Regions from separate parts of the Homo sapiens genome. Here regions 1 and 2 are each linked to region 3. The links are contacts of gene promoters, found by promoter capture Hi-C in blood cells and fetal thymus (Javierre and others, 2016). All regions are on one chromosome and are shown on one strand. The core of a region is centred on a gene start or on the middle of the fragment in contact, and the rest is flanking DNA. Distances in the headings are between cores, read along the strand shown. Region 1 overlaps SDHC (succinate dehydrogenase complex subunit C). Region 2 overlaps SDHC (succinate dehydrogenase complex subunit C). Region 3 holds the start of ADAMTS4 (ADAM metallopeptidase with thrombospondin type 1 motif 4).

Region 1 (3,731 bases), core at 709-3,208, 140 kb before region 3:
CAACTTGGAACAGAAGTCTTGTTGAGTATGTGCTAATAGTGCATTGGAGCATTTCTTTTAGAAAGCACTCCACTACTCCTAGTTTGCACCTGTTCTCCCTGTGGATATATATGGGCTAGATCACCTTCGCTGGGAGAGAACACAAGTTCCCCCAATGTCTCAAGGAGACTAATAGAGAGCAAACTCAGATTTACCTATGCAGCACTCTCATGTACAATAACCTCTTCTGGCTCCCACTGAACTGAATAGCTTTCAGCTAAACTAGTAATCACATCACACAGAAATGCCAGTTGAAATACAATACTAGTTAGGTAGTTATTATAGTCAATATGCAGGGGACCAAAATAAGATACTTCTAGAGCCAAAAAATATGATTATAAATGGAATAGAAATTTGGGACAGAAATATATAAAACACATTAACAAAAAAGAGAGTGGTATTCATTTTGTATTCACCAAATATTTACTAAATTATCTACTGCATTCTAGGTACCCTACTAGATAATTAAAAATACAGACAGATGCAGTCTAAGCCCTCAGGGAACAGACAATCCAGTAAGGAAGAACAACAATGAACAAGTAAATTACAACTATGATTATGAAAGAAAAACTAGAATGCTTTAAGAGCATGTATCCAGGGAACATAATCTAGTTTTTGTTTCTGTTTTTGGTGGGGGTAGGAGAGCAAAGTATGCTATAAGGCTAAATAAAGGAAAGCTAAAAAAGTAAAAATATGTTACATGCACATTCTTGTGAGAAAATAAATACATAAAAAAGCAAAAATGTCTATGTCTCCAGCACCAGCCAGACATAATTTTTAAATCTAGCTGACCCTCTTGTAAAGTATATCCCTACTGTGAAAAGATACATCAGATCCCAGAAAACTGATTATAATCTGCACTCCATATAATAAACCTTCCTACCTAAAAAGGATGTACTAATTATCTAAGACCAGTATATAATTCACTCTGTAGCTGCAGTTCATATTATATAAATGAATAAATAGACATTCTGGTCTGTAAATCAAGATTTTGTGAGACTGGTTAGTGAGCTAGTCTTTGGGGGACTGAGCATGTCTAGGTGATAAGAATGGGTGCTAAAACTGAGCTTCTGGAAAAATAAGGTTGGACTGTGTTTCATCAATGATCAGTCAGCCAGCCCATCTCTATTACATTTCTCTGCTCTCTATAATTTCAATAAACATGATATCAGGAAGTGCTAGGGAATGGTTTAAAAATTTGCTAAGAAACTAATCTGGGCCAGGCACAGTGGCTCATGTCTGTAATCCCAGCACTTTGGAAGGCTGAGGCAGGCGGATCATGAGGTCAGATCAAGACCATCCTGGCTAACATGGTGAAACCCCGTCTCTACTAAAAATACAAAAATTTAGCCAGGCGTGGTGGCACATGCCTGTAATCCCAGCTACTCAGGAGGCTGAGGCAGGAGAATCGCTGGAACCCAGCAGGCGGAGGTTGCAGTGAGCCGAGATCGCGCCACTGCACTCCAGCCTGGGCAAAAGAGCAAGACTCTGTCTCAAAAAGAAAAAAAAGAAGAAAAGAATCTGAGCACAGTGCAAACTCATAATTAATTGTTAAAGGGATGAATGAACAATAAACTTAAGAGACTTACTGTTCCCTCTAAATCAAGTGCTGAGTTTCAAAGGAGGCGGAGACTAGGGCCAATGAAACAGCCAAGTTTTTCAAAGAAGCACATATGTGTGTGTAAAAACACATATACATACCTGCACTCAAAGCAATACCAGTGCCACGGTGGCAGATGGACATCGCCATGGGAAGAGACCAACTGTAAAGAAACACACAAAGACAATTTTAAAAAGGAAAAGATGACACCATAGTAGAGAGTCTATCTTGGCAAAAATATAAACTAATTCTGAAATAGGCACTTTTTTTTCTTTTTTTTTTTTTGAGACAGAGTCTCGCTCTGTTGCCCAGGCTGGCAATGGCATGATCTCAGCTCACTGCAACCTCCACTTCCCGGGTCCAAGCAATTCTCCTGAATAGGTAATATTTTCTTAAAACAAAACAAAACAAAACAAAAAATCACCAGCTTTTGCATTCCTGTCTTTTCACTTTTTTTTTTACCCCCCCGGAACAGGGTCTTGCTCTGTCACCCAGGCTGGAGTCCCATGCCACAGTCTCAGCTCACTCCAACCTCTGCCTCCCGGGTTCATGAGATTCTCCTGCCTCAGCCTCCTGAGTAGCTGGGATTACAGGTGCCTGCCACCAGGTCCGCCTAATTTTTGTATTTTTAGTAAAGGGGTTTCATCACCTTAGCCAGGCTGGTCTTGATCTGATCTCATGATCCGCCCACCTCGGCCTCCCAAAGTACTGGAATTACAGGTGTGAGCCACTGTGCCCAGCCGTGTTTCCACTTTTTACTTTAAAAATACAAACCTGGGCCAGGCGCGGTGCCTCACGCCTGTAATCCCAGCACTTTGGGAGGCCAAGGCAGGTGGATCACCTGAGGTCAGGAGTTCGCAATCAGCCTGACCAACATGGAGAAACCCCGTCTCTACTGAAAATACAAAATTAGCCGGATGTGGTGGCACATGCCTGTAATCTCAGTTACTCGGGAGGCTGAGGCAGGAAAATTGCTTGAACCCAGGAGGTGGAGGTTGCGGTGAGCCAAGATCGCACCATTGCACTCCAGCTCCAGTCTGGGCAACAAGAGTGAAACTCTGTCTCCAAAAAAAAAAAAAAAAAAAAAAAAAAAACACCTGTATCAGGATTAGGTTACAAAAATAAATTAAAGAATAAAGAAAACTGATTTATGGAGAAGGATCCCTACCTTTACCAGACTGCATCACTGATAGGGCTGAGAAAAAAAAAAATGATTATAACTCAAAACTCCTTTCGCAAGGAGAAACATGGGTCAAAGACACTCATTAAAGTTGGAGCTGGCATGGTGGCTCACACCTGTAATCCTAGTACTTTGGGAGGCCAAGGCGGGGGCCGTTGAGTTCAGGAGTTCAAGGTCAACCTAGGCAACGTAATGAGACCCCATCTTTACGAAAAAAAAAAAAAAAATTAGCTGGGTGTGGTGGCAGAGGCCTGTGGTCCCAGCTACTTGGGAGACTGAAGTGAGAGGGTCGCTTGAGGCCAGGAACTCCAGACTGCAGTGAGCTATGACTGTGCCACTGTACTCCAGCCCGGGTTGGGGAGAGAGAGACAGAGACCATGCCTCTAAATAAATAAATACAGTTGATACAATTAGAAAGTAATCACTATAGGCCGGGCACGGTGGCTCACGCCTGTAATCCCAGCACTTTAAGAGGCTGAGGCGGGTGGATCATGAGGTCAGGTGTTCGAGACCAGGCTGGCCAACACGGTGAAACCCCATCTCTACTAAAAATACAAAAATTTAGCCAGGCGTGGTGGTGCATGCCTGTAATCCCAGCTACTTGGGAGGCTGAGGCAGGAGAATGACTTGAATCCGGGGGGCGGAGTTTGGCGTAAATGGAGATCACGCCACTGCACTCCAGTCTGGGCGACAGAGGGTGACTCCATCTCAAAAAAAAGAAAAAGAAAGAAAGCAATCACTGTAATACAACCTGGGTCCCTCTATTTCTCCAGGTATAACACTGATGGAAGAAAACCTGAGTTTCATTTATCCACAGTTTCATATAATACATGGTCATCCTTGAATCCTCCCTTATTATATGCCCCAAAATATCCAAACTGAACATACCACTTATTTCCTAATAAGTTACCT
Region 2 (3,223 bases), core at 630-3,129, 160 kb before region 3:
TACAGTCAATCTCAGAATCTTTTTATAGAGGGAAACTCTATTTATCAGAGGACTAGTATTCTAAAGGATACTCTGAGATCTAGAACACTATTTCTCAATTTTGTTTTGACTGTGACTCCACTAAGAAATACCTTTAAAACTGGAACCCAATAGATATGTATATATAATATAGCAAAAGTTGATAAAACAATATTTACCATTACTAAGTGGTGCCATATATATACAAGTATATATTTATATATTTTATATATAAATAAACTTCATTAAAAAACATATATTTTCTCCTTTTTGTGGAGAACGGGGTCTCATTATATTGTTCAGGCAGGTCTTGAACTCCTGGACTCAAGCTATCCTCCTGCCTCTGCTTCCCTAAAAGCTGGCATTACGGGCGTGAACTTCTGCACCCAGCCACTCCAGTGGCGCCATCTTGGCTCACAGCAACGTCAGCCTCCCAGGTTCAAGCGATTCTCTTGCCTCAGCCCTGCCAGTGGCTGGGACTACAGGCGCATGCCACCATGCCAAGCTAATTTTTGTATTTTTAGTAGAGATGGGGTTTCACCATGTTGGCCAGGATGGTCTCAAACTCTTGACCTCAAGTGATACACCCTCCTCAGCCTCCCAAAGTGCTGGGATTACAGGCATGAGCCACCACGCCCAGCCCCAGCCTATATTTTCTATTCTATTTAAATTTCTTTTTTTGTTGGTAGCATGCCACTAAATTGGTTTTCTACCAATTGAGTTAAAACCCACTTTTCTTTTTAATACTAAAAAATAGAGATAGACTCTTGTTATGTCTTGCCCAGGCTAGTATTGAACTCCTGGGCTCAAGCAATCCTCCCGCCTCAGCCTCCCAAAGTGCTGAGATTACAGGTGTGAGCCATCTCACCCAGCCCCTACCCCACCACCCACCCCCACTTTTTTTTTTTTAATTTTTTGAGACAGGGTCTCACTTTGTCACCTAGGCTGGAGTGCAGTGGCACAATCTCAGCTCACTGAGGCCTTGACCTCCCAGGTTCAAGCAATCCTCCTGCCTCAGCCTCCCAAGTAGCTGGGACTACAGGCACCCATCACCATGCCCAGCTAATTTTTTGTATTTTTGGTAGAGATGAAGTTTTGCCACGTTGCCCAGGCTAGTTTTGAACTCCTGAGCTCAAGCAATTCACCTGCCTTGGCCTCCCAAAGTGCTAGGGTTACAGACATGAGCTACCATGCCCCCAGCCCCACATTTAACAAAACACTAATTTTGACTCTCTTGTGTCTTAGGGATATTAACATATTAATATTATATTATAAGTCACTAAATGAGCCCATGGGGCAAAAGCAGTCTTCATTTTCCACACTTCCCACATACATGGCGCCTTAACACACACATACACACATACACCCACAGTCTGAATGTAAAACTGCCTAAATTAGGAGTCAGTTCAGAGAAAAGATGGAAGCCCAGAAAAAAAAAAAAAAATCAAGATGAGAAGATGCCTCCACCTCAACCCTCAAATTGCTTCTAACTAGGAGATTAGGAGTCAAGCAGATTCCACAAAGAGTTGTTTTGCTTAAATAAGGACAATGTTTTATAGAGAGTGAGTCCTACTGGGTAGCAGTAGTAGGCAGGGATATTCCCTAGAATGCCACAGACCCTATAACATCCTACTCTTTCACTCCTCACTCCCCCATTAGATCTTCTGGCAAGTCAACTATCAAGTTCAGAGGCCAAAAACTGCAGACTGTCACAGAAAACACAAAATCCTGTCCCACACTCACAGCCAGTACTTGCTAGAAGAAAAAATAAAAGCAGACTTAAGGACCCTTAGGTTCTTCACTTCCCTCAACAAAAAGATTACCATCACAGGCAAGAACCAGGGCAGAAAAGCTCTAAGTTCTGCAATTTTATAAAACCTCCCCTCTCTTACCCCCATATTGAGACAAAGACAAATATAGGGCAAGTCTCTGTCTGAGCCAAAATATGAACAGAGGAAGCTGATCAGCTGATTTTCTTTACAGAGCTTTGTTCTGTGGAATAGGAAGTCATTAATGGAAATGTCCTCCCTCTCTACTGCCTCCCCCTCAGGGAAGTAAAAAGTCATTTTAAATCAAACTGAACACTGCCCCAGGGAACAGTTGATACAGACACTTAATTTAATAAGTAATTTAGTCTCTCATTTTTTTTATTCCATTAAACTGTCTATTGGACCAGACTGAAATCCAGAAAGTGCTTGTCTCTAAGGCTATGATTTGGAAGTAATAAAAAGTCAAATTAAGGCAAAAGCATCCATCTGACAGTTGACTCAGATTCAGAAGTAATGAAAATACAGAAAGAACTGAATTTTAATTGCCTTCTTGGAAGCAAAACTAGGGAGACTACAAAATATAAAATCTTTTCTTTTTTTTTTTTTTGAGACTGAGTTTCACTTTTGTCACCCAGGCTAGAGTGCAGTGGCATGATCTTGGCTCACTGCAACCTCTGCCTCCTGGATTCTCCTGCCTCAGCCTCCCAAGTAGCTGGGATTACAGGCACATGCCACCACCCCCAGCTAATTTTTGTATTTTTTTTTTTTTTTTTGAGACGGAATTTCGCTCTTGTTGCCCAGGCTGGATGGAGTACAATGGCATGATCTCAGCTCACTGAAACCTCTGCCTCCCGGGTTCAAGCAAGTCTCCTGCCTCAGCCTCCCGAGTAGCTGGGATTACAGGCATGTGCCACCATGCCCGGCTAATTTTGTATTTTTAGTAGAGACAGCGTTTCTCCATGTTGGTAAGGCTGGTCTCGAACTCCCGGCCTCAGATTATCCGCCCGCCTCGGCCTCCCAAAATGCTGAGATTACAGGCGTGAACCACTGTGCCCGCCTATTTTTTTTTTAGATGGGGTCACTCTGTCACCCAGGCTGAAGTGCAGTGGCACAATCTCGGCTCAGTGCAACCTCCGCCTCCCAGGCTCATTCGATCCTCCCACCTCAGCCTTACGGGTAGCTGGGACCACAGGCGCACACCACCATACCTGGCTAATTTTAGAAACCAGTTTTGAGCAGACGATGAGGTCACATAGGAGGCAACATGGACAGTTTCCAATCTATTAAATGATTCCTGCCATGTGCAGTGGCTCGCGCCTGTAATCCCAGCACTTTGGGAAGCCAAGAGTTCAAGACCAGGCTGGCCAACATGGTGAAACCCCATCTCTACTAAAAAATACAAAAAAAAAAAAATTTGCTGGGTGTGGTGGCAGGCA
Region 3 (3,549 bases), core at 256-2,755:
GGAAGTATTCTGACGGATATGATATGCGGGGGACAGGAGGTGACAAAGCAGAGTGAATAGGGGAATAGAGGCAAGAGGAGGTGGTCCACTTCTGGGAAAGGAAAGAGACTGCTGACTGCACTCTCCTTCCTGGGGATTTCCTGGGGAAACAAGCAGCCAGAGGATGGGGTGAGCAGAAATTGCCCCTACTTCTGAACCCTTCCTTGCCTTGAGAGTTCATACCCAAGACCTCTTTTCCGAGTTCCCTCCTATCCAAAGCCAAAGGAATAATTTGCTTCCTTTCCCTAACACCACCTCTTCCTCCCCAGCCACTTTCCCCACCCCAGGCAATGGATTTCTCCCAGTACCCTAATTTCCCTATATGCACAATGCTGTCTCCACCCTCTCCCTGCCCCAGGGAGAATTAAAAAGAAAAGATGACTAGATATTCCAGGAACCACTGGGTTCTCAGAGCAAGGTGGGGTGGATGGTGGGAGCCAGGTGGGGATTCTCCCAGATTGATACTGGGTGAATCTGGGTTCCTGAGAGCAAGTCTTGCCTATGCTGGGGGCTGGCTGACTTGAGGCTGGGGGAGGGTTTAGGGCAGTTGGGAGTGGGTAGGAGCAGGGCCAAAAGCCTGGGGGAAGCTACTGGGAGCTGGGCCAGGGAAATGGGGAGTCAGGAAGTGGGGAGGGGGAACCCTGGGGGGAAATGGAGGCGGAATGGCTGTTCTGGGCTTTGGAGGGGGTGGGTAGTGGTAACTCAGGAAGGGGGATCCTGAGGGAGAGAAGGGACGTTAGAAAAGAGGAGGTGCCACCCTGGATCCGCCTTCTATAAAAGGAAAAGTCGTTAACCCCTCCTGCCTTGTCATCTGCCGCCTCTGTTATGTTCATTCCAAGCAGGATCATCCTACCTTTGGGCAGTCAACTCCCTGATCACTGTCTCCTTGCCTCCCCCAATGTTCTGCCTTTTTTACTCTTCCCAGCTGCTCAGTTCTATCCTGAGCCATGTCAAGCTACCTCTTTTATTTGTTCTTCCCTCTTGATGCCTCCTTACCTGTTCCCTACCCTCTTTTCTCAGGCAGCTCACTCAGTCCCCTCAGCCCTGGAAACCAGCCACTAGGGCCAAAGGGCAGCATGAGGGAGCCTTGAGAAAAGAGAAGCCATGGTAGGTTAGACTATAAGAGCAGGAATTCTCCCAGGACCGTGATCCTATCTGTGCATGCCGGCCAGGCCCTTTCCCTCACTCTCTGCCTCTCCTGGGGCTCTGTCCCACCAAAAAGGGAAAGAGACAGCTGAGGGCTGATTGTGGGGTTTGGGAAAAGGCTATGTCATCAGCTGGCCCAGTGCCTATTATCCATTCGGCTGCTAGAGATTCCCCTCCCCTGGGCAAGTCCCATTTTTTTGGGAAGCGATGATACACCCATCTGAGTCCCACCGACAGAGCTCAGCTGAGTGGCTTAGAGATCAGCCAATCAATCGCAGAGGCTCACCATGCTTAAAAGAGCTGGCGCGGAGAGAGGCTGGGGAGAACCCACAGGGAGACCCACAGACACATATGCACGAGAGAGACAGAGGAGGAAAGAGACAGAGACAAAGGCACAGCGGAAGAAGGCAGAGACAGGGCAGGCACAGAAGCGGCCCAGACAGAGTCCTACAGAGGGAGAGGCCAGAGAAGCTGCAGAAGACACAGGCAGGGAGAGACAAAGATCCAGGAAAGGAGGGCTCAGGAGGAGAGTTTGGAGAAGCCAGACCCCTGGGCACCTCTCCCAAGCCCAAGGACTAAGTTTTCTCCATTTCCTTTAACGGTCCTCAGCCCTTCTGAAAACTTTGCCTCTGACCTTGGCAGGAGTCCAAGCCCCCAGGCTACAGAGAGGAGCTTTCCAAAGCTAGGGTGTGGAGGACTTGGTGCCCTAGACGGCCTCAGTCCCTCCCAGCTGCAGTACCAGTGCCATGTCCCAGACAGGCTCGCATCCCGGGAGGGGCTTGGCAGGGCGCTGGCTGTGGGGAGCCCAACCCTGCCTCCTGCTCCCCATTGTGCCGCTCTCCTGGCTGGTGTGGCTGCTTCTGCTACTGCTGGCCTCTCTCCTGCCCTCAGCCCGGCTGGCCAGCCCCCTCCCCCGGGAGGAGGAGATCGTGTTTCCAGAGAAGCTCAACGGCAGCGTCCTGCCTGGCTCGGGCGCCCCTGCCAGGCTGTTGTGCCGCTTGCAGGCCTTTGGGGAGACGCTGCTACTAGAGCTGGAGCAGGACTCCGGTGTGCAGGTCGAGGGGCTGACAGTGCAGTACCTGGGCCAGGCGCCTGAGCTGCTGGGTGGAGCAGAGCCTGGCACCTACCTGACTGGCACCATCAATGGAGATCCGGAGTCGGTGGCATCTCTGCACTGGGATGGGGGAGCCCTGTTAGGCGTGTTACAATATCGGGGGGCTGAACTCCACCTCCAGCCCCTGGAGGGAGGCACCCCTAACTCTGCTGGGGGACCTGGGGCTCACATCCTACGCCGGAAGAGTCCTGCCAGCGGTCAAGGTCCCATGTGCAACGTCAAGGCTCCTCTTGGAAGCCCCAGCCCCAGACCCCGAAGAGCCAAGGTAGGCATCTCTGGAGTCTGTGTCCTGCGGTGTCCTCCCGCCATGTCTGTCCTACTGACCCCTATTCACCCTCTCTCCACCCACTTACACTTCTGGCCGTTCTGCTTCCCTCCCTTCTGCCTGCCTTTCCTTTCTCCATGAGCCTCCTTTCTTGGTAAGGCTCAGGCCTCTCCCCTTCACCCTTCTCCTAGCCAGACCCACCGAGGGTTCTCAGAGGTGGGTCACAGACTCTGGGCTGGGAATAACTGCTCCCTCTCCCCACCCCACCCCTTCCTGGCCATGGCATCTCCTACTGACACAGTCCCCAGCAGTAAAGGTCTCCTAACAGCCCCTTGGCCTTGGCTCTTTTCTCTGCTCCAAATTTGATTTTCATCCCCCACTCCCAGCTATAGGAGTCAGGTTTGAGGCCCTAGGGCTTGGTGTCTGGCTTCTGATGCTGCCTTTAAAATCACTGTGGCAAACTGCAAACTAGGGCAGGAGTGGCAAGAGAGGGAGGGTATCCCATACCTCCTTCTGGTCAATCCCCTTCACACACTGTGGCCGGACTGCGAGGCTGCCTGAGGCTCCATCCTTTCCTCCCTCCCACTCCTGGTCTCCCCCTTCTTCCCTTCCCTCCTCCCTCCTCCCTCTCTAGCTTTAATCCAGACCAGACGCTCCCTCCACAACCGCCACGCTGAGCTCTGGCCCTGGCCCTAGCTGCTGACTGAATCGTTCCTCCAACCACACAGGGCAGACACGTTGCAGCCCAGCCCTCTAGCCCTGGTCCCATAGGCCCCAGCCACACTCAGGCCTGGAGAACCCCAAAGTCCCTCCTGACGGCAGTCCAGGCTGCTTTCACCTCTGGGGCTCCCGCAGCCCTGGGATGTGGCGTCCCCTTCTCCTCCCCTTCTTAGAACCAGCTGCTGACTCCTCAGAGTTACCACAAAAGCCCTGAGATTTGGCGTTGGGGGAAGGGCCCAACCAAGACCCGCCAGGAGTCAGGAAT

The links. Contacts are between HindIII fragments. The CHiCAGO score rates a contact against its expected background, and 5 or more counts as called.
Region 1: a fragment that was not itself captured here is called in contact with the fragment with the promoter of ADAMTS4 in region 3 in 10 of 17 cell types (M2 macrophages, monocytes, erythroblasts and 7 more); the score reaches 9.8 in M2 macrophages.
Region 2: a contact is called between a fragment that was not itself captured here and the fragment with the promoter of ADAMTS4 in region 3, in 8 of 17 cell types (erythroblasts, M2 macrophages, monocytes and 5 more). The highest score is 8.8, in erythroblasts.

The regions. Positions count from the first base shown.
Region 1 is chr1:161,338,665-161,342,395 of GRCh38, reverse strand. It overlaps SDHC (succinate dehydrogenase complex subunit C), which reads right to left. Exons shown (of 6, transcript NM_003001.5): 4 at 1,741-1,802. Among named protein-coding and RNA genes, the nearest start is that of SDHC, 26 kb to the right of the region's middle. The HindIII fragment of the contact is 9,839 bases long and covers 1-3,731 here.
Region 2 is chr1:161,358,268-161,361,490 of GRCh38, reverse strand. The region is part of intron 5 of SDHC (succinate dehydrogenase complex subunit C); the gene reads right to left. Among named protein-coding and RNA genes, the nearest start is that of CFAP126, 8.0 kb to the left of the region's middle. The HindIII fragment of the contact is 4,866 bases long and covers 1-3,223 here.
Region 3 is chr1:161,197,010-161,200,558 of GRCh38, reverse strand. It overlaps ADAMTS4 (ADAM metallopeptidase with thrombospondin type 1 motif 4), which reads left to right and starts at 1,505. Exons shown (of 9, transcript NM_005099.6): 1 at 1,505-2,564. The coding sequence starts at 1,932. It also overlaps a transcript of NDUFS2 not described here. RefSeq lists enhancers at 1-240, 2,766-3,549. The HindIII fragment of the contact is 11,321 bases long and covers 1-3,549 here.